Linked DNA regions of Homo sapiens: regions 2, 3, 4 and 5 are each linked to region 1. The links are contacts of gene promoters, found by promoter capture Hi-C in blood cells and fetal thymus (Javierre and others, 2016). All regions are on one chromosome and are shown on one strand. Each heading gives the region's core, a stretch centred on a gene start or on the middle of the fragment in contact. The rest is flanking DNA. Distances are from core to core; before and after follow the strand shown. Region 1 holds the start of PARD6B (par-6 family cell polarity regulator beta). Region 2 holds the start of SLC9A8 (solute carrier family 9 member A8). Region 3 holds the start of RNF114 (ring finger protein 114). Region 4 holds the start of SNAI1 (snail family transcriptional repressor 1). Region 5 holds the start of PEDS1 (plasmanylethanolamine desaturase 1).

Region 1 (6,117 bases), core at 2,158-4,657:
GTAGATACAGGGTTTCACCGTGTTGGCCAGGCTGGTCTTGAACTCCTGACCTCAGGTGATCCGCCCACCTTGCCCTCCCAAAGTGCTAGGATTACAGGTGTGAGCCACCATGCCTGGCCAACATTACTGTTTATATGAAGAAAAAGAGATCCTAAAAATGGACCGGAACCCAGTGTGGTGGCTAATGCCTATAATCCAAACACTTTGGGAGGCCTAGGTGGGAATATCACTTGAGCTCAGGAGTTAGAGACCAACATGACCAACATGGCAAAACCCTGTCTCTAAAAAGATAAAAAAAAATTGAAAATAGTAAGAGAAAAATGGACCAGCTAGGTGCAGTGGCTCACGCCTGTAGTCCCAGTACTTTGAGAGGTAGAGACGGGCGGATCACTAGAGCTCAGGTGTTCAAGATCAGACTGGGCAACATGGAGAGACCCCATCTCTACAAAATAAATAAATAAATAAATAAATAAATAAGCTGGGTGTAGTGGTGCACGCCTGTAGTCTTGCTACTCAGGAGGCTGAAATCGGAGAATCGCTTGAGCTCAGGAGGTTGAGGCTGCAGTGAGCCGTGATCGTGCCATTGTACTCCAGCCCGGGTGACAGAGCAAGATCCTGTCTCAAAAAAAAAAGGACCGGCACACTACCTAGTTTTGGTTATAAACTCTTAGCAATCAGTTTTGTAAAAAGCTGTGGTATCACTAAAGCAATGTCAAAGAAAATACTGTTTCAAAAACCCTTCCAAATATTTTTTAAATGGTTAAGGTGACAAATGTTTCAATCTACTGAAAATAAATGTATCAGCAATATATATTTGAAACATATAAGGTGTCATAGACATACTAGAAACACTCACTACCTATATCTTGCCTATTTGTCAACAGCTAGAATAGTGGGACCGACTTCATTCAGCACATGTTCCTAGAATCAGTGTATGATTCTATTTAAAAGACACAGTTAGCTGAAAGTGCAGTATGGCAGTTCAAATATACAACATGTAGTTTAGACAGAAGTAAGTGAAAGATTCACAAATCAGTTGACAAGAGAAAGGCAAAAAGCCTGAAATTCCAGTTTTAAAGCACTCAAGGTTTCTTAGTACTAGAGATAAATTACTATTTGATTGTATTTATCAGTATACTTAGAATTCCTACTCATTTTTTTCTGTGGAAAAAAATTAAAGACTTGCTACCAAGATTAGGGCTATAAACTTAAAATTTTAAGATTATGCAATATCACAAGTGTTTTTCTTTCCATAACCTCAACTCCCACAAATCCAAACTAAACTTATAACAAAAATGCCATAAGAAGGTTCAACCACTGGGCATGGAACCTCTACTGCCACCATACCGCTAAAGGAAAAGTTCTGCTATGTATTTTGGGTCATCTTAACGCTATAGCTCAAGCAAGTCACTTCAATTTGCTATGCTGTGCACAGAGGACACATGGACATGCACATTCCTTAAATTGCTGTAACTACACGTCTTTTCTTACTAATTCTGAAACTAGTGCCAATCCTCATGTAAGTGCCAAGCCGTTTTTGTTTTTGTTTTGTTTTGTTTTTTGAGATGGAGTTTTGCTCTTGTTGCCCAGGCTGGAGTGCAATGGTGCAAACTTGGCTCACTGCAACCTCCACCTCCCGGATTCAAGCGATTCTCCTGCCTCAGCCTCTCAAGTAGCTGGGATTACAGGCATGTGCCACCACGGCCGGCTAAAAATTTTTTGTATTTTTAGTAGAGATGGGGTTTCATCATGTTGGCCAGGCTGGTCTGGCACTCCTGACCTCAGGTGATCCACCCGCCTCGGCCTCCCAAAGTGCTGGGGTTACAGGCGTGAGCCACCGCGCCCAGACTCAAATCACATTTTTTAATGATGTTACAAACGAATGTCGATTTTCTCGATGTGATTCTCAGTTACAGAAACTTACAGAACTTTGCTTATCAACCCTAGACAATAAAACTATTCTACCTAGAGGCTCTAGGAAGCTTTCCTTACTCCACTGTACCTCACTCAAATCACTCCTTGATTTTACATACTCCTTAGTAGTCTTACCATCTATGATGCTCCATTACTTTTTTTTTTTGAAATTGATATACTTTCAATTTTCTCCTTTTCTGTGTTTTGGCCTTCTCAATTCTATTTTAAATGTTCTCAGGGCCCAGCCAGTGTCCTGTTTTGTATTCTGCAATGTCTAGAAGTTATTAAAAAGGCATGAAGGCTTTGCAAAAAAACAGCTTGAGGAAGTCATAACCTTTCTAAGCCTCAGTCTTCTCAGAGAATTGGGCTAGATTATCTAAGCTCCTTTTAACTCTTCAACTCAAGAAACGCTTGCTGAAAGTGTTCCCTTGGCTGCCGATCACCTTCAAATTCCAGCTCAAAACCCCCTTTGGAAGGCATTCCCTAACTAATCCCTCCCTACAGACTACCCTGCTCACTGAGCCTTGAGATTTAGAAATTCAGTGAATACCGAAGTAATTATCAGCAGATTGGCATACCGTTGGTCAAGGGGAAAAGCACTTGATGTGAGTAGGTAGCAGGATGGAATGAAAAGAGCATCTAGAGTCAAACTGTAAAGTGCTACTCCAACGTAAGGTGATAGTACTAATTTTACAGATTAAATGCATACCAAAGTTAGTGCTAGAAAGAGCGCCAGCAGGAAGCAAAGCGAACTTTTAAAGGGCTGTTTAGTTCACTGGGCTCTCTCCTTCGCCACTCGATGCGCCCCTTAACCACAGAAAGTGGGAACAACGGGGTGGTCCAGGGCCCTTTACTCACAGCCCAGCAGGCAGGATTCTCCTACACCTTTTGAGCAGCCTCGCATTTCACTCAGTGTGCGCCATCCTTGGATATACCTTGGCCCCTACTCCCGTCCGTGAACACGGGAATGAGATTTACGGAATGAGATTAAATGCTGGACTAGGTCTTCTTCCTGCCCGGGCCAGGGGCGGACACTAGCGCCCCCTGACCCCCGCCACCCCCTCCTCGGCAAGTTTATTACCCACAGTCTCCCGACCGCACCGTCCAGACCCCGGGGCAGCTCAGCCCGTCGCCTCCCCCGGCGCTCCGAGCCTGGCCCGGCCTCTCCCAGGCCCCGGCCCCCCAGGCCCGCCGCTCCGCCCAGCCCGGGCCCCGCGCACCTTGCTCTTCACCTCCATAGTGCCCAGGCAGCCGCTGCCCGCCCCGTGCCGGTGGCTGCGGTTCATGCTGAACGCCGAGCCCCGCGACGGCCTCCTCCGGCCGGGCGGCCCCTCAGGAGCGCGGGGAGCGAGTGCGCGACTGGGGATCTCGGAAAGCGGTTGCGGCCCGGGCGCCTCCTCACAGGCACCTGCAGAGGGGGCGGCCGCAGCTCCGGCGTCCGCGCTGAGCTCCACTCCACCAGCTGCTCACACGGCGGGACCGAGGGTCGGACTGGTGGCGCGGCAGGCGGGGAAGCAGCTCCCTCCCTCCGGGCCCCGGCGGCGACGGCGACAGCGCTGGAGGAGAGGAGGGGGCGGAGCGGAGGCCACAAGCGCCGCAACCTCTCCCTCTGCCGCCTCCCCCGCGAGCCCGCGCGCGCGCACCCGAGCGGACCACAGCCGCGGCGCGTGCGCGCGCTCACCTGCAGCCCCCGAAGATGCCGCAATCCCTCGCGTTCCGCCCACACCCAATAGAAAGCGCGCACCTGCGCCCGCGGCGCCAACCAATCGATACACGCCTCGCGCGGTGCGTGGGCGGGCTGCCTCCTCAAAACCCCGCCTACCACCGCACGATTGGTCCTGCGCTACGAGGGAGGGGCGGGATCACCTGAAGCCATGGCCCTCCGCCCCGCTTCAGGCCGGAGAGCCAGAAGGCGCATGCGCGGGTGCTGGAGTTTCCGCCCCGGGAAGGCACGCGGGGAGGCCGGCCGGAAGCGCGAGCGCACCTGAAGAAGGGCTCGGCTGGGTGGGCCTTTTGCGCACGCGCGAGCGCGCGCCTGGTTGCCCGGCTCCGCCGGGGCTCGCGCCGCTTAGCGCGCGCCAGTCACACGCACGGTCCAGGGGATTGGATGCGCCGCCCGTCCGGTTGCCGAGGCGCTGCGGGGCTATTCGGTTCCAGCCGGGCCCCCTTCCCGCTTCCACTTTGGGATGCTGCAGCCCCCAACGACGCCCCTCCACCGCCCCTTATCGTTGCTTAGGCGTCCCGCTGCAACTCTTGGTTGCAAAATTCAAGTTTTCCCGCCTCTGCAGCGGTTGCTGGGGGAGAAGCTTAGGGCTCTCTTGGCTTCATTTTGTCCGAAGAGACTCTGCACGCCTTAAGTCCGTCAGGTCGAGAGGGAAGGAAAGTGGGCTGAGGCGCGGGAAGGCTCCTTGCAGGCCCAGCCTCCCTGAGGATTTCTAGTCCAGTCTTTCAGGGCTTTTTTTTTTTTTCTTTAAAAGTCTTCCTTTTCCCTCCTCCCGCCATTCCTTGGCCATTCGCTGTTTCTACAAATGACAGCCTCTAGGTTGTGTTCGTTTCCCGGAGTGACCAAGCTGTGTCCCAGAGCAACAAAACGCTGAATCCTCCTCTCTGAACGTCCCAGAGCCCGGCCTCTCTTCACACAGACCCTGTGGGTCATGGGGAGGAGAGGAGAAGACTGAAGCTTTTGGCTGGAGGAGATTCCCAGGTCCCAAGGTCTCCCTGTGGGACCCGGGAATCCAAGAGCTGTTGAAACCTGCAAGCCAGGAAGGGGGCAGGGGAATGGAGGTGGAGGGGAAGGTCCAACCTGAGATTTGGCAAGAAGAGTGGTTAGGGTACCTTCCTCCCCTCATCTCCCTGCCCACCTCGGAGGCCTCCTAACACTTGTACCCCTGTTGCCCAGCACTTGTTACAAGTTACAGGTTTCCCATTTTTGTGTGCATCTGAGTTTTGTGAGTAATCTGCCACCAGCCTAGAATGAAAGCTCCCGAAGGCGCAGGGACGGCTTGTGCTTTGCTGGCATTGAGTGGCACAGAACCCGACTCCCAGCGGGTACTCAGATGGGTCTTTGCTGGGTGCTGCCACTGAGGGTGTCCCTTCTGCAGGCTCTTTGCCCCACTTGGGTTCAAAGGCGAGAAGCTCATTTTTTTCCCTCTGGAGGATTCAGGTAACCAGACGTTTTGTGGGAGGATTTAAGGTTTTTCTGGCCACCTGTGGCAGCACAGGTGGAAAGGACACCAATCCAAGCTGTATAATAAATAAGCAAGCTGCCTCCACCCCCTGTTTGAAAGCACATAGGAGGTGACTCAAGTTCAGCCGGAAATAAAGTGCATGTCAGGGCCTGTAACTCCCCTGTTTGGACTAGCACAGCAGTTCCCAACCTTTTTGTTTTCAAGACCCCTTTACACTATTAAAAATCATGGAGGACCCCAAAGTACTTTGTTTATGTGTAATGTCTTTCAATATTTATCTTAGAATTAAAACGGATGTGTCCAAAACATGGGAGTACACAAGCATGCATTCCAACAGTCATCAGAGTGATGATGTCATCACATGTCTTGTCCCTTCTGGAAAACTCCATTGTATACTCGTGAGACAATGGGAATGATGAGAACAAATGACATCTTAGTTTTGTGAAAGCAGTTTTGGCCTTGCAGAGACCCCCGTAAAGGGGTCTCAGGGACTCCCAGAGACCACACTCTGATCATGGCTGGACTAGATACCATGTCACCACCTTTAGAGAGCTCCGTTCTTAGGTCTCCTCCTCCTCTCCCTGATTGGCAAGGCCACACCCTGGGAGCAGCACCCCAGCTCTGTGTGAGTGAGTGTTGGGTGGTTGAGTTTTACTCCTGTTATCGGTACTGATTTATCAGGAAGTTCGTGGGTGCCAGTGCACCTGCGTGGGCCCTGCATTCCTGGAGGTGTCGTCACATCCTCTCTCCCTTCCCCAGGTGTGGCATCCCTCTTTACTTGGACTTTCCTTTCTAGAGGGAGGGCCAGGCCAGAGCTTCCTGGATTTCTTAAGGAAAATTATTTCAACCCGTGCGCCTGGGTTGTATAAGGAAGAAAAGTAGAAAATAGTTGGAATTTGATAAAGGTATTGTGAAGGAAGAAAATCCTTTCATTCTGAGAGATGTTAAGGCCACAAGTGTGTTCACTGGGCCTGAATTTCAGCCTTTCTTGAGAAGCATGATCAGCACAGACGAG
Region 2 (6,117 bases), core at 2,669-5,168, 920 kb after region 1:
AGAAAAAAAAAAGAATTTGAACTTGGGTCAAACTCAAAGCTATTTATTCCTTAGCTAATCAAAAGTGGTTGTGTAGTTTCAACTGGATTTCTTTTTTGTCTGTTTGTTTGTTTGTTTTTTGAGATGGAGGCACACTGGGAGGCATTTAAGTTTTTGTCTTTTATCTAAACCTCTCGACTGGTATCTGGTAACCTGGTTATCAGTCTCTAGTCTTATATCAGCCTGGTATGACAACCACCTGACTTCTCTATGCTGAAATTTCCTCACACACTAAAAGAGAAGGTTGAACAAAATTAGTTTTTTGGTTTTTTTTGTTTTTTTTTTTTAAGACAGTGTCTCACTCTGTCGCCCAGGCTACAGTACAGTGGCACGATCTTGGCTCACCGCAGCCTCCGCCTCCCAGGTTCAAGCAATTCTCCTGCCTCAGCCTCCTGAGTAGCGGGGATTACAGGCACATACCACCACGCCCAGCTAATTTTTGTAATTTCAGTAGAGACAGGGTTTCACCATGTTGGCCAGGCTGGTCTGGAACTCCTGACCTCAAGTGATCCATCTGCCTTGGCCTCCCAAAGTGTTGGTATTACCAGCATGAGCCACCAAACTCGGCCCAAAATGAGGTTTTCAGAGAGTGAATGCATTTAATCAAAAATAGTACATAACTAAATTAACAATACAGGTGGTACATAGATATGGCAAAAGTCATGACCATGGTTAATGAGAATGACAGAGGTTAAGGAAAACAGGGTGCTGGGGCAAGGGTTTCTGCTCTTTCAATCAGCAGCAAAACCATTAAATAAAATTCACATGGAAGTCAAATAAATATGAACACAAAATGCTGCTCTGATTGAAGCCAGGAGCAGGGGGTCAGATATTCTCCCATCTGACTCCTCCCACCTCCTGCCACCCCACCCCCTGCTCCTTCATCCCCTGCACAGGTGCATACTCCTTTGAGTAGAACTTGAAATCCATTAAACTAGATGTTCAAGATTCTTTTTTTTTTTTCCAGACAGTCTTACTCTGTCATCCAGGCTGGAGTGCAGCGGCGTGATCTCGGCTCACTGCAACCTCTGCCTCTCAGGTTCAAGTGATTCTCGTGCCTCAGCCTCCTGAGTAGCTGTGATTACAGGCATACACCACTACGCCTAGCTAATTTTTGTATTTTTAGTGAAGACAGAGTTTCACCATGTTGGCCAGGCTGGTCTTGAACTCCTAACCTCAAGTGATCCACCCAAGTCTCCCAAAGTGCTGAGATGTCAGGCTTGAGCCACCGCGCCAGGCCTCAAGATTCTTTCTAGGCCAAAATTTTTTTAATCCTTCTTTCAAAGGCCAAGATATTACATCAACAGCTCTTCAGAACTTGCTAAGCACCATGATTTTATAAAGAAGAGAGTTTCCTGTTAATGATGTTATAAACTGATCATGTTCCCTCAGTGTTTGATATGAAAACCAAATGGGAGGAAGACTTGACAGTCAAGAGGAGTGACAGGGTTAAACACACAGACCGAGCACACAGACACGGGATGGCAGATGATGGGGATGACAGTGTCCATATTCACCTAGGACAAGGAGGCTGAAGAAAATGGTCATGCCGCTGGACTGCTCCTCTTGCTGGGCCTGCTCCCCTGTCTGCACGGGGAGGATGGGCTTGCCAGGGGTCGGGAGCACCAGTTTCGTCGTGACAACCAGGGTGGTGTGGAGGGTGACATTGAAACCCTCATGAGTTGTATTGGGGAACCTCCTGGAGGACATAGAAAGCATAATTAGATAATGGAAAAGGGTCCCAAAACATCAATTCACACACCTCACACCAGAAAGAGAAGCTGTCCAAGAACTTTATGGGATTCAGAAGTCTTTAACAGGCAGGCCTTCGAGAGAAACTTACTAAGAAAATCCCTGCCTGCACAGCACAAGGGTACCAGTGGCCTCTGGTGCTTTTGAATACAGCCACTTAGAGGACAAGAACGGTAGGGAATCAGAGCTAGTATAGAAATGAAATGCTGCCTGCTCTTTGGCAAATACTGGGGGATTTAAAGGGAGGCAAACTGGAGTCTCATCACTTTCCAAGGTCCAACACTGTTTACTTAGCACCTTTGTTTCTCCAATTTACATTATTTTCCTGGCATTATTTCTGCAAGTTGAAGAAGCCACCTCAATTTGCCCAGTTGTTGATCTGGGCATGCCCTACCCTACTTTACAAAATCCCTCTCAGATTTCAAACGGCTCAAATGTCACCTCCTATTACCCCATCTTACCACACCCGAATTTACCCACTCCACTGCGTATGTTCCCACAGCTCTTTCACACTGTGCTGGGATTGTGAACTAGTACAATATTGCTATAATAACTGTTACTGTGACTACAAAAGTTATTATTTTCTGAGCACTGCTTTATTCCAGGAACTAGGTAACACACTACCTCTCATTTAATAGGTATAACATGTCTGATTGGGTATGATTACTTTCCGTTTTTTACTCATGCATAACTAAGGCTCAGGGAGGTTGCAAAACTTCACCAACATCTCAGTTAGTGGCAGAATCAAGCTGAAAACCCAAACTTGAAATCGCTGGGCTATATTGCCTCTTTTATTTTGTGCTGCTGAGGCTGTTTAGTGTCTGGGATGGAGCAGCTGCTCAATAAATAACTGATTACATGAAATGACCCCCACATGGCCAAGAAATATATTTGAAAAGTTATCAGGTGAAGGACTCCAGTATCAATGAAGGGGTTCCTTATTCATCTTCACATACTCATTCCACAAACAGTGATAGGGCATCTACAATCTGCAACAGACTCTGCCCTGCAGGTATGGAGATGACTTTTGGACTTGCCCAAAAGTACCTGGAGGACACAGCCCGTCCTTCCCCATCTCCCCTTGTCCAGCTAACCCCCTTCCTCTCTACACACCAGCCATGCTGCCTGTCACTCAAAAGCACTAAACTCTTTCTTGAGCCAGGCCTTTTGAACCTGATGTTATTTCTCCTATCCCTCATTCTGGTCATTCAAGTTTCTGCTGAATGTCACTTTTTCCTGAGTGGACTCCCCAACCTTAACTCTATTTTGCTTCCTTCAGAACACTTAACCCATTCATGCCAGAGGTTGCAATTTTTAGAACTGCAGACGTGAGAAAAATCAGACCTTGGCGATGACCTTGAGCAGTAGGATATAAATAACTCCCACATGCTTAGCGTTCCAATAATGGAACACTAGGCACAAATAACGTTAATTAATCACGATCTGAAACCACCTTGACTAATTATGGTCTTCTTTTCCCACTAGAATGGAAGCTCCCAGAGAGCGGCTCCTGGTCGGCCTCCTTTCCTACCACCTGCCCAGGGCCTGGAATTGAGTAGATGGCTAACAGTTAATGACTAAATGAAACTTAGTGAAGGAGAAAGACATGAAAACTGATCGTTATACAGGAGGCGACTGGCTACGTAGGAGGTGGGTGTGGAGAACCCGGACGACTTCCTGGAGGAGGCGGAAGAGGGCTCAGTAACCATGAGATTACCGAAAACTGGGAAAGTAAATATGGTTTGTATTTTCCGCAAGACAGCTCTCCGGGCCTGCGCTGGGCAGTAGATTCCCAGCTCGAGGGACCGATCTCCAGGGGAAAGCAAGGCCCACCTGGGCCCAGGCCCGCCCATCCCGCCCTCCTCGTAGGCACCGGCTTGGTCAGTCCTGGCCAACCAGCAAAAGAAGCTCCGCCTTCCGGGGCCGGAGGGCGGCCTGAGGCGCTCGCTGTCACCCGCCGGGGCCCAGCCCCGCCGCCTCCGCCGCCCGGGAAAAAGCCCACTCACTCCTCTTCCGCCATCTTCTCCCCCATCCTGCGGAGCTTCCAGGACCACCGAGTTCGGAGCCGCGGGGCTAGCAGGACCCGCTTTTGCTTCCGGCTTCCGCTGGAGGCGCGGGCGGGCGAGCGGGAGGCGGGGCCTCGGCCGCGCGAGGGCGGCCCTCTGTCCCTCCGTCTCAGTGGCCCGAGGGTGGGAGAAAGCGCGTGGGAGGATTGCTTCTTAGTCTCTCCCGGGGCTTTCGGGACGCTTGTCCGGCCTGGGCCACATGACCACCTGGGACCGAGAGATTCCGGCTTTTCCCCATCACAGGGCGGGGACGTTTTGGGGAAACTCCTCTGAGGTCACTGTGACTCACCCTGAGGGCAAGCAAGCACCCTCCACCCAGTGCCCTCGACTTCGCTGTGCTAAAAGAGTTTGAAAAAGGATGCCCAGCCTGCAGCCTAAGCGGAGAGACCCCAGGGGGACACTTCCCCACCCGAGCCTTAGTTTCCTTCGGCTGTGGAGAGGAATAACCGCCTGGACTTGGCAGGACTGTGCAGCATTCCATCTGTAAACATGTGTTGAGTTCAGACTATATGCCTAGCGTTAAAAAGGATGCTGATGATCTAGGGGTGGACCATTCATTAAGGGGTTCATTGATTCACCACATGCTTAGTAGATGCTTCTATGTGCCTAGCAGTGACCGGTGGGGTGGGGATGCAGGGAGGAACAAGGTGAGGTGAGAGGGGTAGGTGAGACCCCCATCGGGAGGACTGGGGCTGAGGACTTTGAACTTTATTGGCCGCTTCTGTTGCTACCTCCCTTCCTGATCCAAGGCACTCTATCTCATCTGGATAATTGCAACGGCTCCATTCAGGGTCTCTGACTCACCCCTGTTCCTTACGGACTTCCACACAGCAGCTTAACTCATCACTCCTCTGCTTAGACCCTCCAATGGCTTCCAATCTCCAGAGAAAAAAAAAACGTGGGGAATGTACAGGACTCAATCCTGCCCCCTTTTCCCCTCTGAAGTGTGTGGGAGGGGGGCATGGGGCTCTATATCTCCCCTCCCACACACTTTGACTTTCCACTATTGTCCCAGACTCACCAGGAATACTTCCACCGTTGCACTTACTGAGCCTTTATCTAGAATGCTCTTCTTCTGGGTAGCTCTTTGGCTCCCACCTCTCCTACGTTTGGCCTTTTATTTAACCCTTATCTTGTGTGTTAGACCTCCTTGACCACCCTACTTAAAATCCAAGGCCCCCCGCCTTCCCTAAACTATTTTTCCACATGACACCTAACCTACCATATGTTTTACTCATACACTTGTTTGTTAACCATCTCCCTCCATGAGAACGGAAGCTTCATGAATGCAGAAATTTTTGTCTGTTTTGTTCTCCATTTTATCTGCAATGCCTACAACAGTACCTGGCACATAGTAGACACTCAATAATAAATAATCATTGAGTAAATAAATCAGTTAATTCTAGCACACCTAGAAGGGTTTTGAACTGAGAAGTAACCTAAGCTTTGCTGCCTGTTGGGAGTTGACTGGGGATTGGCGAGAGAGAGAGGATGGAAGCCCCAAAGCCAGCAAGGAGGCTTTTGCAATAATCTAGGTGACAGCTGATGGCAGTCTGGATGAAAGTAATACGGTGGAGGTGGCAGGAATGGTTGGACTCCTGGACGCATACTGAAGACAAGGTTTGCTGACGGACTATGGCGTATAAAAGAGGAGTTAAGCATGGTGTCAGGGTTTTGGCCCCGAGGAACTGGGTAGAGAAGAAATCTGGCTCTAACCTTGGGTTCTCCATCCTCTGCAGTCTCTTAAGACTGCTAAAGCTGACTGAGAGAATGTCATCAGGATCCACCAATGTTTATTGAGTAATAATAAACTTGCTTCCTTCCTGCAGGTGTGGTGTTGGGCTATTGTTTCCTTAATTCTTTACATAGCTTTGAGGTAGATACCATCATTATCCACAGACATAGAGAAATCAAGGCACTTGCCTGCGGTCCCACAGCTAGCAAATGACAAGGCTGGGATTCAGGCACAGAGCCAGTGTTTTTAAACCAGTAGCCCTGCTACTCTCCACTGCCTTAATTTCTCTGGCTCTTAAATGGGACTAATAACCTACTCTCCTCCGTTAGCACAGAGCCTGGCGGGAATGACCTGGTCTACAAAGGATTGAGAGTGGGGTTCTCTCTGGCCACACTTGTCAACTGAGGGCTTGAGGCTACCATTTTCTACCAGCACCAATAAACCCCACATGGCTGGAATTCGCCAAGCTGGAAACTCCACATAGCTGGAATTCACTACTCTTCTCTATCCGTTGTCTTGCCTACT
Region 3 (6,117 bases), core at 1,428-3,927, 800 kb after region 1:
AGAGCTCCACACCAAGATCACGCCACACACAAATGAGGACTGGAAAGGAAGGCAGGCAGACCTTGGGGGCCATGATGCGGTAGACCATGGTGAGAAGGGCAAGTGATGAGGCAGTAGAGACAGGCAGGGCCTGTGGCCATCACTTGTGTTGCCTGTTCACAAAGGCAGATGACAAGAGGAACCCAAGAGAGCACAGAGGGTCCAGTGAGTATAATGGAACCAAACCCAGCATGCAGATAAAAGCAGCTCGAAGTCTCTTCTCAAGCACACACACAGGTACAGCTCATCTATCAAATGTTCACGAGTCACTTTGTGCCTGAGACATGCCCAAACTACCAGCCTGCTTTTGAACAACTCAAATATCCTGGGATGGCTTTTCAGTTTCTATTTCCTACTTATGCGCCCTTTTCTAGTTCAGCCTTCCGATGCTCCACTCCGTCACAGTGCTAGGAAGAAATTCCCTTCTCTTGGGCACCCAGCCAGCTGCCTTTCTCCAGCTGTATTCTACCAGATTGGAGAACACAGTCATTCAGGGCTTGAAATAAAGTTTTATAAAAATCCAATGCCCCAGCCAGAGTTGCAGTGATGCTCAACTTTCCAAGCACAAAAGGTAAAAATCAACTAGGCACAGGAGAAAGCAGTCGGTTGGAGCTAGCGGGGATTTGGGCTGCCCTCACAGAGGTGCTTCCATCTGTCTTCAATTTGCACTGAACTGCTGATCACGTGGGGCTAGGACAGCGAGGATAGAGAAGAGCCAAGGTTTGAAAACCAGTACTGTTCCTTGCCCTCTGACCTAGGAAAGGTTCACCAAGCTCAAGAAAATCTCAAATTTTGCTGCTCTTCATTTAGCAAACTGTGCTGGGTCTAGCCTTTTTACAAATGTTAATAGTAAATGAAATCCACTGAATTAATCCAAAATCAGGTAAATCTGATCCAAGGATAAGTGGATTCAATGAAAAAGCTAAAGACCACTTCAACTCTCGTGAAGCTTGCTTACACGACTTATTAGTTCATTCAACCATTACCTGATCACTCACCCCACGCACAGAGGTGTGATCCCTGAAATACCCTCCCACTTGCAGAATGAATTTTTACAATAGTTTGACCAGTCATTGGTACTTATTTATAATCAATTCACTGGACTGTAAACTCTGAAGGCAGAGTCTACCCCAAAATCTGGCACACAGAGGCCATTCCAGTCAGTTCAGGGGCAATAAAGATATGGCCACTCCGTCATGAGCTGTTAAGTTTTGCTCTGTGCAAGCAAGGAGAAGGAAGTTAAGTCCCAGAAAGGAAGTGGGGGAAGTAATTTAGATGGGGATGGTATTTGGTGAGGTAACTTAACCTGGGACTTGAAGCCTGAAAAGGGAGGGGTGGGGGGAAGAGTTCCAGGCTAACCGAATTGCAAAGATGAATAGCCTAAAGCAACATGATGAAGCAAAAAGCAGCCAGCTAGGTGCCAAGCACTGTTCTCTGGACTACTGAAATGGTCACCTGCAGTACATCTGGGAAGAGCTAGGCCACGGTGACCCTTCCCTAAGAGAGCCTCGGACCCTCAGTGTATTCACCTGTAAAATGGCTGCCAACCCTCCCCCGCTGCAGGGTGGCTATAGAATAATGCCCATGGAGTGCAATGGCTACTGTGCCCGCTGCCAAGACCAATGCCAAGGTGATCCCACGATAAGCACTGAGAGGGGCCAGAGGAAAAGCCAATTCTGAGGCAAGAAGCAGGTGGCCACGTTGTCTACAATTCTTTCAACTCAGATGTGTTTGTGCGTCTGATGGAACAAGGCTTAGATTCAAATCGACCAACCTGACCAACCTCGAAAGCCCCGGCCACAGCCCAGGACCTGGACTGGACATTTATACACATATCTGCTTTAATCATTATAACCACTCTATTCACAATATTCAGGTCATGAAGGCTTAATTGAAAACTGAAAGAAACAAACCTCCTACACAGGAAGTAGAATGCTAACAATCCCATCTGCCAACTCCCACCCCCCTTTCACAGCTAAGGGCAAACTGGCCAGATCCCCATAAAGACTTCCCTTTTGTTGTTTTAGTCTAGTTCAGCGTTTCTCCCGACTTTAGTGCACAGTAGAATAACTCGCCACAGCTAGACACGACGCCAAATGTCCTATGCTTTAAGAGCGACGTGGACTAGAAAGGAAACGTCGGCTCTCCAAGGGCGGACTTCGGAGCCTAAAGTCCCCGCAGGGCACGAGTCCACTATCACGTGTGGGAAGGAGACTGACAGGCCGCCTGGAACATCGCAGGCGCTCAACAGACAGCAGCTGCCCCGCTAAGACGGGCGGAGGAACGGGATACTTAGGAGTGAGCGGGGCGGGACAGAAGAGCGCCCCGGCAGCTTTCACGGCCCTTAGGAGCCCCGGGGGACACCCCCGGGAGGCCCCTCTGGGTGGGTCCTCTGGCTCCCGCCCTGAGACCCATCTCGCTCCTCGGCTCCATTCCCTTCCCAGTTAAGCGCCCCCCGACCAGGCCCGGGCTCGCCGCTTACACGTGTCCGCAGGGCACCTGTACCGGCTTCTCGTACACCTCTAAGCACACGGGACACGTGAAGCGTCCTAGGGGGTCAGCCTCCGCCGCCGGCCCCGCCAGCTGCGCAGCACCCCCGCAGTCCCGCTGTTGCGCCGCCATCTTGCTGCCGCTCTGCGCCGCGCAACGGCGGCCGATGAGGAGGAGGCCGAGGGGGCGGGGCTCGCGGGGCGGTGAGCGGTTGGGGGCGGGGCTAGCGGGTGGGCCGCCCCTCGGGGCCCCTCTGACGCAAGCGAGCTAGAGGCCGAGGGAAATCTGGAAAACGTGGAAGCCAAATCCAAAGGCTGCCAGAATTGGGACGGGCTCTGCGCGTGGGCCGCTGTTTTCCAAATTTATCGTTAGTTCGGCACCACTTGCACTATCACTATTTATCTTCGAATCAAGTTGCTTTTTCCTTAAATTTATTTATTTATTTATTTAATCTATTTTGGGACAAGGTCTTGCTTTGTCGCCCAGGCTGGTGTTCAGTGGCGCGCGCGATCATGGCTCCCTGCAGCCTCGACCACCGGGGTTCAAGCGATCCTCCCACCTCAGCCTCCTGCGTAGCTGGACCACAGGCAGTCACCACCATGCCGGACTAATTTATTTATTTTTGTATTTTTTGTAGAGACGGGGAAAGGAGGGGGGGAAGGAGTGGTGCAGAGAGCGGGCGGGTCTCACTGTGTTGCCGAGGCTGGCCTCGAACTCTTGGACGCAAGCAATCCGCCTGCCTCGGCAACCCGAAGTGCTGGGATTACAGCGGTGAGCCACAGTACCCAGCCATTTCTTAAATTTAAGCAAATTCTAATAACAGATCTAATTCCTGAGCTGCAAGAAGAAAATCAATATCATTTATTTATACAAAGGAGCTGGGCAAGGTGGCTTACTTCTGTAATCTCAGCACTTTGGGAGGCCGAGGTGGGCGGATCGCTTGAGCCTAGGAGTACTAGAGCAGCCTGGCCAACATGGTGAAACCCCGTCTCTACTAACAATACTAAAATTAGCCAGGCGTGGTTGCCCATGCCTGTAGCCTCAGCTACTCAGGACGCTGAGGCAGGAAAAGCCTTTGACCTGGGAGGCGAAGGTTGCCGTGGGCCAAGATGGCTCACTCACTCCAACAGTCACTAAACTCCAGCCTGGGCAACAAGAACGAAACTCCGTCTGAAAAAAAAAAAAAAAAACAAAAACACAACCTGGCTAACACGGTGAAACCCTGTCTCTACTAAAAATACAAAAAATTAGCCGGGCGTGGTGGCGGGCGCCTGTAGTCCCAGCTACTCGGGAGGCTGAGGCAGGAGAATGGCTTGAACCTGGGAGGCGGAGCTTGCAGTGAGCCAAGATCTTGCCACTGCACTCCAGTCTGGGCGACAGCGCGAGACTCCCTCTCAAAAAACAACAACAACAACAACAAAACAAAACAAAAAAACCCCAACAACAAAGTACATTCATTTCATATTGTGCAATCATCACCATCAGCTATCTCTAAAATTCTGGTCTTCTTGCTAAACTGAAACTGAAATTCTGTCCCCATTAAACAATAACTTCCTCTTCCCTCCTCCCATCCCCATACCCCCAGGCCCTGGCAATTTTCTGTCTATGATTTTGAAGCACTTATAGCTATAAAATTTCCCCTGAGCACTGCTTTCACTGTGTCCAGTAAATTTTGGCATGCTGTGTTTTTGTTTTCATTTGTTTCTCAATATTTTCTCTATTTATTTAATTAATTTATTTATTTTGAGATGGAGTCTCACTCTGTCGCCCAGGCTGGAGTGCATTGGTGCAATCTCTGCTCGCTGCAGCCTCCCTCTCCTGGATTCAAGCAATTCCCTTGCCTCAGCCTCCCAAGTAGCTGGGATTACAGGTGCCTGCCACCACGCCTGGCTAATTTTTGTATTTTTAGTAGAGACAGGGTTTCACAATGTTGGCCAGGCTGGTCTCAAACGCCTGACCTCAAGTGATCCGCCAACCTCGGCCTCCCAAAATGCTGGGATTACAGGTGTGAGCCACCCAGCCTGGCCTGTTTCTGAGTATTTTCTAATTTCCCTTGTGATTTCTTCTTTGATCCATTGGTTCTTTTAAGAGTGTGTAAATTTCCACAAATTTGTGAATTTTCCAGTTTTCCTTTGATATTGATTTCTTTTTTTTTTTAACCCCCCCATATTGATTTCTAGCCTTATCCAATTGTGCTTGGAGAAGATATTTGGTATGATCTCTTTTATTTCTTCTTTCTTTCCTTCTTATCTTTCTCTCTTTCTCCTTTTCTTCTGTCTCTTTTTGTAGAGATGAAGTCTGGCTGTGTTGCCCAGGCTGGTTGCAAACTCCTGGGCACGAGCAATCCTCCTGCCTCAGCCTCCCAAAGTGCTGGGATTACAGGCCTAAGCCACCACAGCTGGCTGATGTCTACCTTTTAAAATCTCTTGAGGCTTAATCTGTGGCCTAACATATGGTCCATCCTGGAGGATATCCCATGTGTGCCTGAGAAGAATGTGGATGCTGTTGTTGCTGGGGAGTGTCTGTACATGTGTTAGACCTGGTTGTCTTACTGTGTCGCTCAAGTCCTTTATTTCCTTACTTGTCTCCTGTTTGTTCTATTTATTCTTGGGAGTGGGGCATTGAAGTCTCTAACTATTATTGTGGAATTGTCTATTTCTTCCTTCAATTCTACCAATTTTTGCTTCATATGTTCTGATGGTCTGTTATTAGGTATATAAATGTTTATAATTGTTATATCTTCTTGCTGTATTGAACTTTTTATTAACATACAATGCCTTCTTTATCTCTTGTAACCTTTTGGACAAGTAATTTTTCTTTTTTCTTTTTTTGAGACAGGGTCTTGCTCTGTCGTCCAGGCTGGAGTGCAGTGGTGTGATCTCAGCTCACGGCAACCTCTGTCTCCTGGGTTCAGGTGATTCTCCTGTTTCAGCCTCCTGAGTAGCTGAGACTACAGGCATGCACGACCACGCCTGGCTAATTTTTGTATTTTTAGTAGAGACAGGATTTCACCATATTTTTTAGGCTGGTCTCAAACTCCTGACCTCAGGTGATGCACCCGCCTCGGCCTCCCAAAGTGCTAGGATTACAGGTGTGAGCTACCGTGCCCGGCCTGGACAAGTAATTTTTCTGATATTAGTATTGCCAGCCCTCCTCTTCTTTGGTCACGCAAAAAGATATTTGCATGAAATATCTTTTTCCATCCTTTCAGAACCAGTCTATAAAGTGAGTTTCTTATAGAGAGCAATACAGTTGAATCATGTTCTTTAAAAAAAAAAAAAAAAAAAGCTGGGTATGGCGGCTCATGCCTGTAATCTCAGCAGGAGGAGGCTGAGGCGGGTGGATCACCTGAGGTTAGGAGTTCAAGACCAGCCTGACCAACATGGTGAAACCCTGTTTCTACTAAAAATACAAAAATTAACCGGGCCTGGTGGTGCATGCCTGTAGTCCCAGCTACTTGGGAGGCTGAGGCAGGAGAATCGCTTGAACCTAGGAGGCAGAGGTTGCAGTGAGTGGAGAACGAGCCACTGGACTCCAGCCTGGGCAACAAGAGTGAAACTCAGTCTCAAAAAAAATTTCTTTTAAATT
Region 4 (6,117 bases), core at 2,278-4,777, 750 kb after region 1:
AAATCCCAGCGCTGGATGGAATTTAAGAGCTGAGAGTGAATTCATTCCATCACCTCCTGGGTGCCTAGGGTGCCACACTGAGCTACCAGGGTAGGAGAGAGTCCAGAGGATGGCTCCAATGGGACCCATGCATTCAATAGGGACTTATGGAGCGCCTGAGAGCTGGACTCAGTCTCATGGGGCAGAAATGGAAACTCGCCACTCCAAAGGGTGGGGGACATAGAGGATTGGGGGAGGGGTGCCTGAGCACTACTCCACTCTGCCATTACTCAGCAGCCTCCACACGCCACGCCTGAAGGGTTTGTTGATTGCATTCTAAGTCTTCATGTGAATGAGAAGGGTAAGTTCACCCTTGTGAACTAAGGGCTGACTCTGGAGATCTGGAAAAGGGGCTGGAGTCCATTTGTAAGACCAGAGTTAGGACAGCACCTCCCTTCCCTTCCCAGGGCTGTTGGTGAAGTCCTGAGCACTACCCTCCTGTACAGTAAGTGCCCAAAGTGTGATGAGACCTGAACCCAAACAAAAGGGGAAGGAGACATTCTAGGACATGATGGGCTGGGGGCGGGGGCTGTGTGCACACGCAGGAGGCACAGACCCCCACTCCTTGGATCCCTCGCCCCCCAGACGCCTTCATGGTACTCCTGGCAAGTGTGAAATCGGCACCAGGCCGGCGGGGACAAAGGGCGCCGAGGGGGGCACTGTACATGCGATATCCCCGGATTAAAGGGGCCTGCCATGCAGTGGGCCAGCAGCTGTGACTGGAACAGGTGCTGGGCACCGCTGCCCCATGCACCTGCTCCACCCCTCCCAGCCCCCACCCACTGGGCCCACCATTAAGGCACACAATGGGAGTCAATGAGGACCGCAATGATACATTTCAAGGGGATTTCTGTGTCTCAGCCATGCCTTTACATTAAAATAATGTCCAGATGGGAGGTGAGAGAGGCAGGCAGGACTGCAGCACCCTGAGGGGTTCAACTGTCCCAAAATAGAGCCCTGTGAGCTGGGCAGGCACCCAGGAGGCCAGGCAGTTGGACCTTTACATGTTAAAATCAGAGCAATTGGTGCACGAAGGAAGAGAAATGGGTAGCCTTAGTCGAATAAGATGCCAATAAAGCCCGCGAATTGCCAGTCCTCCCAGACACCTCACTAACCCTCACCGCTCAGAGGTCAGGCGCCAGGCCAGGAAATGGCAGAACCTGGCCAGCTTGAACCCTGTGGAATCTTCTCCCTCAACTGTCACTCTCCAAAGAGCAGCTCCAGGCACAGTGGCTGCCACCATTCAAGTTCTAAAAAGTTCTACCTTTTCTCCATGTCCAGAAAGTTTTTTACACATTTAGTAAATTTTCAAAAGACGTGATTGTGTTTTCTGCCCCAAAGATGCCGTTTCCTGGTCTGTGTGCTAGGATTCAGTGGGGGTGGGGAAGCCGACCTGAGAACCGTTCGGGTATAATAAATTACTATAAAGTGATTAGCCACCTTTACAGCCACTCTCTAAAACATATGCTATCATAGTTTTCCCCTAAGGCTCAGAGAGGTTAAGTTGCTTGCCCAAAGTCACACAGCAAGGAAGCAGAGCAAATGCCAAGGAACCATTTTTGTGAGAGTTTAGCAGGTACCGGCACTTTGCCAGGTGCTTCCCATATGCATTCCTGCATTTAGCCTGTATAGAAACCCCAAAAGCTGTTCTCATGCCCATCTGAAAGATAGAGAAAATGAGGCTCACAGAAGAGAAACATCAGCCTAAGTTTTGAGAAAGTTCTCAAAGAAGGATTCAGAGCCAGGCGGGGGGTCTGACAACATCCTGTCTGGCTAGGGAGGGGGCGGACCCGGGAGAGGGTGTGGCCGGGTGGGCCCCTTCACACCTGGCCCCCACAGCAAGGTGTTGGTTGCACCTTTCCCATATCCAGCTCCGACCCATTTGGCTGAGAAACAGGCTGCAGGGGATTGGGAAGGTGTCTGCTTTGCCCATCTGCTTAGCTGATGAAGAAAGTTTCTGCCAAACGTTTCCAGAGAGCCAGGCCCTGGAACTTGAGCTAGAAGTTAGAAGACTCGGGGCCTCAGTGTCCACAGCTTTGGGAATGAGAACAGCAAGCCCAGATTCACAAAAGCTGCCAGAGAGAGCAACGGTGGGGGCGCCTGGAGGGGCACGTACCAGTGTGGGTCCGGACATGGCCTTGTAGCAGCCAGGGCCTAGAGAAGGCCTTCCCGCAGGTTCCGCAGACGCAGGGCAGCGTGTGGCTTCGGATGTGCATCTTGAGGGCACCCAGGCTGAGGTATTCCTTGTTGCAGTATTTGCAGTTGAAGGCCTTTCGAGCCTGGAGATCCTTGGCCTCAGAGAGCTGGGCCAGCTGCTTGGGCACTTGGCCCAAGCCTGGGAAGGCAGCATAGGCCTCGGCCTCCAAGGAAGAGACTGAAGTAGAGGAGAAGGACGAAGGAGCCGGTGAGGGTGGGCTGGGGGGCTGGGAGCCTTTCCCACTGTCCTCATCTGACAGGGAGGTCAGCTCTGCCACCCTGGGACTCTCCTGGAGCCGAAGGGAGGCCCAGGCAATTGGCTGGGCTTGGGGCGCCAGGACAGAGTCCCAGATGAGCATTGGCAGCGAGGCGGTGGGGTTGAGGATCTCCGGAGGTGGGATGGCTGCCAGCAGGTGGGCCTGGTCGTAGGGCTGCTGGAAGGTAAACTCTGAGGGAGAAAAAGCAGAGTCAGGCGTTAATTAAATCATTCACTCAATCAACAAACATGAGCCCACCGCTGGCCAGGGGCTGGGTGGGGCCGATTCTCAATACATAATTAGATCAAAAAAATTATCCACAGGACAGACCAGGTTCCTGCCCTCCTCGCCCAGGTCACCCAATCTGAGTCTCTCACACGTAGGACCCCCAGTTGAAGGAGGTCATTTCCTGATCTCCCTCTCCTAAGTCCCCAGTCTCCAGCCTGAGGCCAGAACCCCATCATCCCAGCCCCGGAGCCACCACCCTGCCCCAATCCCCCTCCTCACACACATCTCGTCTCCCCACCCCTCCCCTCAACCCTCTGGACTCCGGACTCTCCCCAGCAGCGTCCAGAGGGCCCTCCTGACACAGGCCTCCTCTCCTTCCCCTCTTGCGGAGCTCCTCCGCCTCTCGCCGGCTACAAAGGCCCCCCAAGCTGAAGACCCCTGCCCTCTACACGGCACTCCCCCAACCACCCAGACAGATCCCCGGAACTGGGGACCCACTTGCCCGGTCTCCCGAGCCCGCAATGGTCCACAAAACATCCTGTGACTCGATCCTGGCTCAGGCAGGCCGCCTCCCTCAGGTGCCCCCCACGCAGCCTTCGCCTGTCTCCCCCAAACCTCCTGGAGCCCAGAACCCCTCCAACGCACCTGGATTAGAGTCCTGCAGCTCGCTGTAGTTAGGCTTCCGATTGGGGTCGGAGGGCTTCCTGACGAGGAAAGAGCGCGGCATAGTGGTCGAGGCACTGGGGTCGCCGATTCGCGCAGCAGTAGCGCAGAAGAACCACTCGCTAGGCCGTGCCGCGGCGCAATGAATGCAGCAGCGCCGCCAACTCCCTTAAGTACTCCGGGGGGGTGGTGGGGGGTGGGAGGGGCGGGGCCTTATCTGCCACGCCCCTTTGTCACCTCCGCGCCAATCGGAGGCTCGTCTCCGCCGAAGGCCACTCCCCGAGCAGGTGCGCCGGCTGCTGGCCGGGCTCGCGCCGCGTGGCGGTGAGAGCCCGGGCGGGGACTCCTCCGAGGCGGGGTTCGCTGGCGCAGCGCGGGTCGTCCCCGGTGCTGGGGCTGTCCGGGGCGGGACGTCGAGCGAAGCGAGGCCTCTGCGAGGTGGGACCCCGGCAGGACGCCGCGCGCCCACCGGCTCAGCGCCCGGTGGTCTGAGCGCTTCTGACGCCCCCTGGCGCTGCGCGCCGGCCGGGACACCTGACCTTCCGACGCCCGCCCCCGCCTCGGGCTTGGGAGGGGGCGGAAATTTCCTCCGCCCGGCTGGCGCCTGGAGAGCGTGGCATTGACGAGGGAAACGCACATCACTGGGGAGGAAGCGAGGAAAGGGACACCGCACGTGGCTCTCGGCGGCTTGAAATGCCACGGCCTTTTTGCAAAGCAGCCTGGCCCAGCTAGCCAAGAGCACCCGTTCCTTCCCTTATCCAGTGTTTACGGAGCGCCCAGCACGTGTGGGGCACTGTACCTGGGGCCAGGGCACAGCCCCGGACAGAACACTCAGAGCCTCTCCCGAAGGGTAGCTTCTGGTCCAGTGAGGGAGACAGACGAAGTAAACAGATAATTACAATGCAAAGGGAAGTGTGCTTTGGTGGGGGAGAGACGGGACGCGGCGACCGTTAAGAGGCGGGTCACCTGACAGGGGGTCGGGGTGACTTCCCAGAGGAAGTGAAGAATTATCAAGGGAAAAGGCCCGAGGGAAGAAGTGGCAACTGCTTCAGAGTAACTCCTAGAGAGCAGCTTCCAGGGATGGGGTGGGATGGGCATGCCCGGAGGGGTCAGATGTGCTGGGCCCCAGGGCCTCGTAGGAGTTTGGACTTTGCCTCAAGGGCACTGGGGAGCCACCGAAGGATTTTCAGCTGAGGAGGGACCTGGTTAGAGTTTCGTTGAAAAAGATCCCTGTAGGCTGGCGGGAGAAAGAAGGCATGGGCCGGGCGTGTCTCCTCACCCCGTGAAGATCCTCGATCCTGTGTCTAAAGGCTGTAACACGGCTCCATAGGGGCCCTGACTGAATGCATGTGGGGTGGGCCCAAGTGAGGGGCAGCTGCACCCCCACCCCAGCTTCCCTGGGAGGCGTACCAGGCCCGGGGGTGGCTCTGAAATAAACCTCACAGGTCTCACCGTTCTTGTTTCCACCTGTGAAGGAAGACTATAAAAACCTATAAGCACCCCACACCACCACCACCACCAACCTGAAGGGCAGAACTACTGTCTGTTTAGTCACTTGGTGCCGGGTGTGACAGCCGTGAACAAAATCGTCCTCCCCTGGTTCTAGCTGGAGAGCGGGCAGTAGGGTGGGGGACAGAGGCAGTAAGCAGTCATTAAGCGGAATACTCCCCGTCCCGTGTCAATTTAGCTCCAATCAGGATCCTTTGCTTGAAGCCAAAGTGAGGCCAGATCACCCCCTCCTCTGCTCAAACCCTCCCATGCGCCTGTCTCAGAGTAAAAGCCAAAGTCCTCTCCTCAGCCAACTCGGCCCCGCTGCTCTGACCCCAGCTGACATTGGCTTGAGCCTCTCTCCCTCCCCCATGCACAAGGATCCCACCCCCAGCCTTCCTTCTGTTCCTCCAACATCCCAGACCTTTCCCACCTTGGCACCTGCTGCTCTTCCTCCTCTCCCCTACGTCTCTTGCTCCTAGATCTTCACGCTGGCTTCCTTTCATTCTTTGTTTCAGCAGCAACTTCACTAACTGCTCAGCCTCGTTTAGTGAAGAGAGAAATGGCAAATTCAAGCCACAGTGAGCTGCCATTTCACGCCCATCAGAAGGACAACAAGGAAAAATTTGGTCACTATCAAGAGTTGATGAGGAGGTGAGAGCTGGCGAGAGGGTCGGTGGGCATAGTCACTTTGGAAAAGTTTGGCATCAGCTAGCAACAGGTGACTCCTCTCCCTGTCTGTCCTCAAGCCAACTGCATCCCAGGGGCTGCAGCTGACAAGTCTGTCCTCAAACCAACTGCATCCCAGGGGTTCTCAGCTCTGGCAGCACATTAGATCCCCACAGGGAAGGATTAAAACACCTAAGCCTCGGCCCACCCCACCCCCACCCACATCTTGATTTAATTAGTCTGGGTGGGGCCTCTGGCATCAGCATTTTAAAAAACTCCCCTGGGGATTATAATGAGCAACCAAGCAAAGTAAAGAACTGTTGTCCAGCCCAAACCCCGAAAAAACAAAAAAGGATATTCATTGTACCCTCGTTCCTAATAGCAAAAAAAGCAAAAACTAAAACAAAACTGGATACAACACAAATGTTTATAAACAGTAGACTGGATTAATGAACCCTGGTGCAATCCTGTAATAGAATACTATACAGCAATAAAAATGAACTACAACTCCATGCAGCAACAGGGATGAATCTCAAAAACACAATGTCGAGCAGAGGTCACAAACAAATGCATAGTT
Region 5 (6,117 bases), core at 1,554-4,053, 580 kb after region 1:
CCCAGCACTTTGGGAGGCCGAGGCGGGTGGATCATGAGGTCAGGAGATCGAGACCATCCTGGCTAACAAGGTGAAACCCCGTCTCTACTAAAAATACAAAAAATTAGCCGGGCGCGGTGGCGGGCGCCTGTAGTCCCAGCTACTCGGGAGGCTGAGGCAGGAGAATGGCGTGAACCCGGGAAGCGGAGCTTGCAGTGAGCCGAGATTGCGCCACTGCAGTCCGCAGTCCGGCCTGGGCGACAGAGCGAGACTCCGTCTCAAAAAAAAAAAAAAAAAAAAAAAAAAGTCAGATCATGTCATTCCTCTACTCAAAACCCCACAGGGAAGGGACTTCCCAGCTCATTTTAAGTAACTGTCTCCCCCATATCCTTTAGGTCTTGGATCCAATGTCACCTTCTTAAACAGGACTTCCCTAACCTTCACCCCCACCTCCCAAGAAAGCAGGGATTCTGTCACATTCCCTGCTGTTTCCCTGGGACAGGTTGGTGTTTAATAAACATGTTCAGTGAATGAATGAAGGAATGAGTTATCTCAGGCAGTCTGTCCATCAACCATCTGGTGCTGGCCACTGTGAGGGTCTCTGGACAGCAGCAGTAACCAGCCACCCTACCCTGTTTGGAGGCTGTGGGATACGAGCAGAGAGCTTTAGAAGGTATTTACCTGAAATCTGACATCCAGCCCCCACCAAAGCCACCAACCGCGCCCCCCCCCCCCCGTCCGCCGCCCCCCACCCAAGCCTTAAGCTCCTGGGTTAAAAAATCCAACTGTTGGATTAACTGTGCTGTTAATACTGATGCAAAACCAGCCAGCTTCACCGGAATTCACCAGGACTTGGGTTGCAACCCATCCCTGCCACTGGAAGGTGGCTTTTCCTTCCTGGGAGCAGGTGTGGGAAAGAAACGGAGGGAGCATAGGCCTGGGTGGGGACAGTGGCTGTCTATGGTAGGAACACTCAGGAAACAGCCCTGGGGTGACTGGTAGTGCAGGAATCCAGGACTTAAACCCTCAGAGAACCTGGATTCTGGAAGGGGATCTTACCTTCCCTCTCTGCTCCCCCAGCACCTTTCAGGACCTTCCACAGCCTCTAGGGAGGCTCCTATGTGATCTCACTGTATGGATTTTTTTTTTTTTTGAGACCAAGTCTCACTCTTGTCACCCAGGTTGGAGTGCAGTGGCGCCATCTCGGCTCACTGCAACCTCCACCTCCCAGGTTCAAGTGATTCTCCTGCCTCAGCCTTCCAAGTATCTGGGATAAGTAGCTTGCCTAATTTTTGTATTTTTAGTAGAGACAAGGTTTTACCATGTTGTCCAGGCTGGTCTCAAACTCCTGGCCTTAGGTGATCCACTGGCCTCGGCCTCCCAAAGTGCTGGGATTACAGGCCTGAGCCACCGCGTCCAGCCTGTATGGAATTTTTTTTTTTTTTTTTTGAGACGGAGTCTCCCTCTGTCGCCCAGGCTGGAGTGCAGTGGCGCGATCTCGGCTCACTGCAAGCTCCGCCTCCCGGGTTCACGCCATTCTCCTGTCTCAGCCTCCCGAGTAGCTGGGACTACAGGCGCCCGCCACCGCGCCCAGCTAATTTTTTGTATTTTTAGTAGAGACGGGGTTTCACCGTGTTAGCCAGGATGGTCTCGATCTCCTGACCTCATGATCCGCCCGCCTTGGCCTCCCAAAGTGCTGGGATTACCGGCGTGAGCCACCGCGCCCGGCTGCCTGTATGGAATTTCTATGAGAAATTATTGCATACTTTGTTGTCGGTTAGACCTGGGGTAAATCCCTGCTGCTGTCATTTATCTGCCGAAGTATTAGACGCATCTGGCTGAGCCTTAATTCATTCATCAAGCATTTATTGAGCTTCTACCATGTTCCAGCCCCGATCCTGGCACGGGGGCCCTGCTGTAAACAAAGCTGTTCTCTGCCCTCAGGAGCTTGCTCTCTGATAGGAGAGACAGGGACTGCAAGCTCAATCCCCACCAGAAGCGCTGTGAAGACAAAACAGGGTGATGTCACAGTGACTGGAGGAGGGGGCACCTTTGAGCAGGGTGGTGGTGGTGGGGCTCTCTGAGGAGGCAATACCATTGGTGTTTAAGAGTCAAATAAATGTTGCTCGTCTAGCTCTTGGTCCAGCACCTGACAGATATTAAGCGCTCAGCAAATCTCATAGTGACCCTAGTTGTCATTTTCATTAGTTTACTGTCCTCGCCACCGGGAGAACATGAGCTGGGGAGGATGCGGGGCAGGCTCGACGTTTCTCCTCTTTGGGCGCACAGCACAGAGCTGGCACACAGCTGATGAACACATGGCACCCGAAACCTCTGCACACAGTAGGGCTTGATAAACCAGCCCACTCTCCATCGGCCTCGCTAGGGAGCATCGTACAGAGCACCCGCCAAATGCTTCCTGGCCTCGGCCCCAGCCCGGCGCCCTGCCCTCGCGTTCCTTGCACACAGTGGGCGCTTAACGCTGCCGGCTCAAGAAATGCCCATTTCTGGGCCCTGCCTCGGCCCATTGCATGGGCCCGTGAACCGAAGCCTAGCTGGGCGGCGACGCGCCGCGAGCTCCCAGTGGGCTGGAGCCGGGAGCCCTGCCGGGGCTGAGCTGGGAAGGCGGGCACGCGCCTCCGCCCCAAGCTTCCGCGCCCAGCTGCGTCCAGCTGCGTCCCAGCCTCCGGCTCGCGGCGGTTGGCTGCGGCTCAGCGACGTCCGATTGGCCTGCGCGGCTCCGGCGCGAGCCCCGATTGGCTGTGACGCGCGGCCGGGCGAGGACCCCGCCCGCGCCGCCGCCGCGCCCGGCGCTGGGCGGTCATTGGGCGGCGTGATCTCGCCGCGGTTCCGCGGCCCTGCCGCCGCCGCCGCCAGCAGAGCGCACCGGGCCGATCGGGCGAGTGGCCATGGCGGGCGCCGAGAACTGGCCGGGCCAGCAGCTGGAGCTGGACGAGGACGAGGCGTCTTGTTGCCGCTGGGGCGCGCAGCACGCCGGGGCCCGCGAGCTGGCTGCGCTCTACTCGCCAGGTAAGACCTCTGGGCCCCCCTCCAGGCCTGCGGTCACCAGCCCCGGCTGCGGACAGCGACCCCAGACTGGAGTCCCAACCTCGGGCCCAGATGCGGAACTCCAGCCCGGGTGTCTAACTTGCAAATAGCAAGTTCGGGGACCCCACCCCAGTGTCCCTTCCGAACCCAAGCCAGAACCTTGGCCCCGGGGTTTCCTGGCTGCAGAGACACTCCCCAGATCAAGAAATTACCATGAGCTCCCTGGGCGACAAACGGAGCTCCCATCGGACCCGCAGATACGGAATCCTAGCCCCGGGGCATTCTCGGTTGTGAAGAGTGCTCCTAGACTTAGAACCCCACCCCCTCATCCCCCCAGGACCCGGTCCAAGCCCAAAGCTGCCCTTCAGCTGTAAGCACTGCCCTCAGGCCCCTAAAAGTCACACCTCATCCTGGGTTCCCCAGATCTGGAATCTACATCCTAGTACCTCCTCTGTGCCCTAGCCCAGGCCCTGGGCTGCAAACAATGACCTCACCTCCCTAACCTGGGAATGTCAGCCCCTCTGCCCAGGGAACCCTAACTCAGGGGCTTCCAGCTGCACGGTACCCCCCACACCCTTCCCCCAAAACCCCATCCTAGTGATAGCTTCAGTGGCTACAGACCGATATCCTCTCCCCAACCCTCCAGTGGTGAGCATCAGTCCTTGCCCCATATTCCTGGATCCCAGGCAGTGAGGGGACTGAATGTACCCCACTGTAAGCTCCCCTGTACATAAGCCCCAACTCTAGCTCTTGCCCCTCCCTCACATCCATGTATTGGCCCCTTCCTTAGGACTTGGGACTGGAACCCCCATATTCCCCAGACCAGATCATAAGTTGGAGTTCACCTCTCCCTCTCTGTCCCTTTCCCTCAGGCCACGGTTTCTCCCTAGCTTCTTCCTGCTTTGCTCACTGTATATGCTCCAGCAAGCACCCCCCCTACACCCACTTTTGTGACTCCTACGTGAGCCCTAGGAATTTTACTGTTTGGCCTCAGGAGGGCCCTATATCCCCAGGAGTTAAGGAAGTGCCTTTGAGAACTCCTGGTTCAGGTGACTGGGAGGCACCTCTACCTGGGTGTCACCATGGAATGAAGCTTTGTTTGTCAAATATCCTGACATCCTTCCTTTTTCTGTGGGGCAGCCACCAAGCACCACATGCAGCCCTTGCCTGGAGTGGGCCTGGGGTCACTAGCACCTTAGCTTTCTGCCCTCACTGGCCTGGGTTCCATGCCGTCTCTTCCTTAAAAGGCGGCATGGCCACGGACCATTTGCATTTCCTCACTGGGTCCTAGACCACTCCATTCTCTGTATGTGATTTTTCACACCTGACTTGGGCACCTGGTCCATGCCGCTATGGTTTCTTCAGGCCTATACCCAAGACACCCAGCCTATGGACTTAAAACCTCCTGCTCTCCTGGGGGTAGGCCAGGGTTAACATCCTGACTCTGTTATTCAGCTGTATGACCTGGTCCAAGCCACTTTCCGTCTCTGTTTCCCCTTGGTTTCCTTGCAAGTTAAAGTTTATCTGCCCCTTCGTGTTAGGAAGTGGAAATGAGATCGTCCACTGGCATTCAGTAGGCACTCCCTGTTGTTGTGTGGGTTTTTTTGTTGTTTTTTGTTTTGTTTTGTTTTATTTGTTTTGAGATGGAGTCTCACTCTGTTGCCCAGGCTGGAGTGCAGTGGCGTGATCTCGGCTCACTGCAAGCTCCTCCTCCCGGGTTCACGCCATTCTCCTGCCTCAGCCTCCTGAGTAGCTGGGACTACAGGCGCCCGCCACCATGCCCGGCTAATTTTCTGTATTTTCAGTAGAGATGGGGTTTCACTGTGTTAGCCAGGGTGGTCTCGATCTCTTGACCTTGTGATCCGCCCACCTCGGCCTCCCACAGTGCTGGGATTACAGGCGTGAGCCACTGTGCCTGGCGCCTCCCTGTTGTTAACAGTAGTCTGACCTTTGCTGTGGGGGATCCGCCTCACCTCTCTGGTCCTCAAACTCCCCACCTGGGAATTGGGGATAAGGATTCAAGGGCCTCCCTCTTTAGTGTCCAGCTCTGCCTGCTCCTGTGAACCCTACCTACTTTCAGACAGCCCAAATCATTCCCAGGCATTCTGAGCCTCCCCAGGGATTGCTGTTTCCCCACTCCACCACGATCAATTGCATATTTGTCCATTTCTGGTTTCCCCAAGTGCCCTTCACTCTCTGAAGAACAGCCATGCCTGAATCAGAGTCTGCAGACAGCCTGGTGCCCCAAATCTGCAATCAAGGCCCTTTATCTCCTCCAGACCTGGAGGTAGGGGAGGAGACTTGCCAAACTGGTTTCTCCAACTTCCTTTCCACTGGCCTCTCTGCTTCTATCTGCTCACTGTGTGATCTTGGGGAAGTATTTGACCTCTCTGGGCCTGAAAAAGTGAGAGACCAGGCTCAGTGCATATTGAACACCTATGTTCTAGTCCATGTTCTAGGCTCTGGGGGCAGAATGGTGAACAAGACAGAAAAAAATGGAGCTGGCCGGGCGCGGTGGCTCACACCCGTAATCCTAGCACTTTGGGAGGCCGAGGTGGGTGGATCACTTGAGGTCAGGAGTTCGAGACCAGCCTGGCCAACATGGCGAAACCCCGACTCTACTAAAAATACAGAAATTAGCTGGGCATGGTGGCAGGCCCCTGTAATCCCACCTACTCAGGAGGCTGAGGCAGGATAATCTCTTGAACCCAGGAGGCGGAGGTTGTTGCAGTGAGCCAATACCACACCACTGCATTCCAGCCTGGATGACAGAGCGAGACTCTGTCTCAAAAAAAAAGAAAAAGAAAAAAACGGAGCTGGCATTTTAGTAAATAGCCGGGCCATAAACTTGACAAATAACTGTCTCACGTGCCCAGTGGTGGCAAGCGCTGTGGAGCAAATACATAGCAGGAGAGGGGGATCTGAAATGTTGGGGACAGGAATGACATTTTAGGGAGGGGGCAGTGAAGGCTTCCCTGAGCAGGTGACATTCGAAGTGAGGCCTGAAGGGAGGAAGGACTGGAGGGAGGGAGCCTTGAGGATATTTGAAGAAGGGTTGGTCCAGACCAGGGAAACAACAAATGCAGAGAC

The links. The method cuts DNA at HindIII sites, captures the fragments that hold promoters and counts their contacts. A CHiCAGO score of 5 or more calls a contact.
Region 2: a contact is called between the fragment with the promoter of SLC9A8 here and the fragment with the promoter of PARD6B in region 1, in 3 of 17 cell types (non-activated CD4 T cells, fetal thymus and naive CD8 T cells). The highest score is 12.1, in non-activated CD4 T cells.
Region 3: a contact is called between the fragment with the promoter of RNF114 here and the fragment with the promoter of PARD6B in region 1, in 13 of 17 cell types (neutrophils, total CD4 T cells, fetal thymus and 10 more). The highest score is 26.9, in neutrophils.
Region 4: the fragment with the promoter of SNAI1 here is called in contact with the fragment with the promoter of PARD6B in region 1 in 1 of 17 cell types (fetal thymus); the score reaches 6.0 in fetal thymus.
Region 5: a contact is called between the fragment with the promoter of PEDS1 here and the fragment with the promoter of PARD6B in region 1, in 8 of 17 cell types (fetal thymus, non-activated CD4 T cells, total B cells and 5 more). The highest score is 11.0, in fetal thymus.

Annotation. Positions count from the first base shown.
Region 1 is chr20:50,728,870-50,734,986 of GRCh38, reverse strand. PARD6B (par-6 family cell polarity regulator beta) reads right to left here and starts at 3,407. Exons shown (of 3, transcript NM_032521.3): 1 at 3,135-3,407. The coding sequence starts at 3,200. RefSeq lists silencers at 2,965-3,754, 3,855-4,064 and enhancers at 4,255-4,304, 5,257-6,117. The HindIII fragment of the contact is 2,238 bases long and covers 1,985-4,222 here.
Region 2 is chr20:49,810,629-49,816,745 of GRCh38, reverse strand. It overlaps SLC9A8 (solute carrier family 9 member A8), which reads right to left and starts at 3,918. Exons shown (of 16, transcript NM_015266.3): 1 at 3,798-3,918; 2 at 1,557-1,738. The coding sequence starts at 3,823. RefSeq lists a silencer at 3,670-3,949 and an enhancer at 4,100-4,239. The HindIII fragment of the contact is 7,464 bases long and covers 1-5,137 here.
Region 3 is chr20:49,932,957-49,939,073 of GRCh38, reverse strand. It overlaps RNF114 (ring finger protein 114), which reads right to left and starts at 2,677. Exons shown (of 6, transcript NM_018683.4): 1 at 2,522-2,677. The coding sequence starts at 2,661. RefSeq lists silencers at 1,308-1,602, 1,888-2,182, 2,641-2,830, 3,397-3,476, 4,915-5,115 and an enhancer at 2,423-3,028. The HindIII fragment of the contact is 14,536 bases long and covers 991-6,117 here.
Region 4 is chr20:49,980,390-49,986,506 of GRCh38, reverse strand. It overlaps SNAI1 (snail family transcriptional repressor 1), which reads right to left and starts at 3,527. Exons shown (of 3, transcript NM_005985.4): 1 at 3,366-3,527; 2 at 2,156-2,683. The coding sequence starts at 3,447. RefSeq lists a silencer at 3,513-4,032 and an enhancer at 4,185-5,122. The HindIII fragment of the contact is 8,892 bases long and covers 1-6,117 here.
Region 5 is chr20:50,150,409-50,156,525 of GRCh38, reverse strand. It overlaps PEDS1 (plasmanylethanolamine desaturase 1), which reads left to right and starts at 2,803. Exons shown (of 6, transcript NM_199129.4): 1 at 2,803-3,009. The coding sequence starts at 2,889. PEDS1-UBE2V1 (PEDS1-UBE2V1 readthrough) reads left to right here and starts at 2,803. Exons shown (of 8, transcript NM_199203.3): 1 at 2,803-3,009. The coding sequence starts at 2,889. RefSeq lists a silencer at 2,370-3,049. The HindIII fragment of the contact is 1,492 bases long and covers 2,631-4,122 here.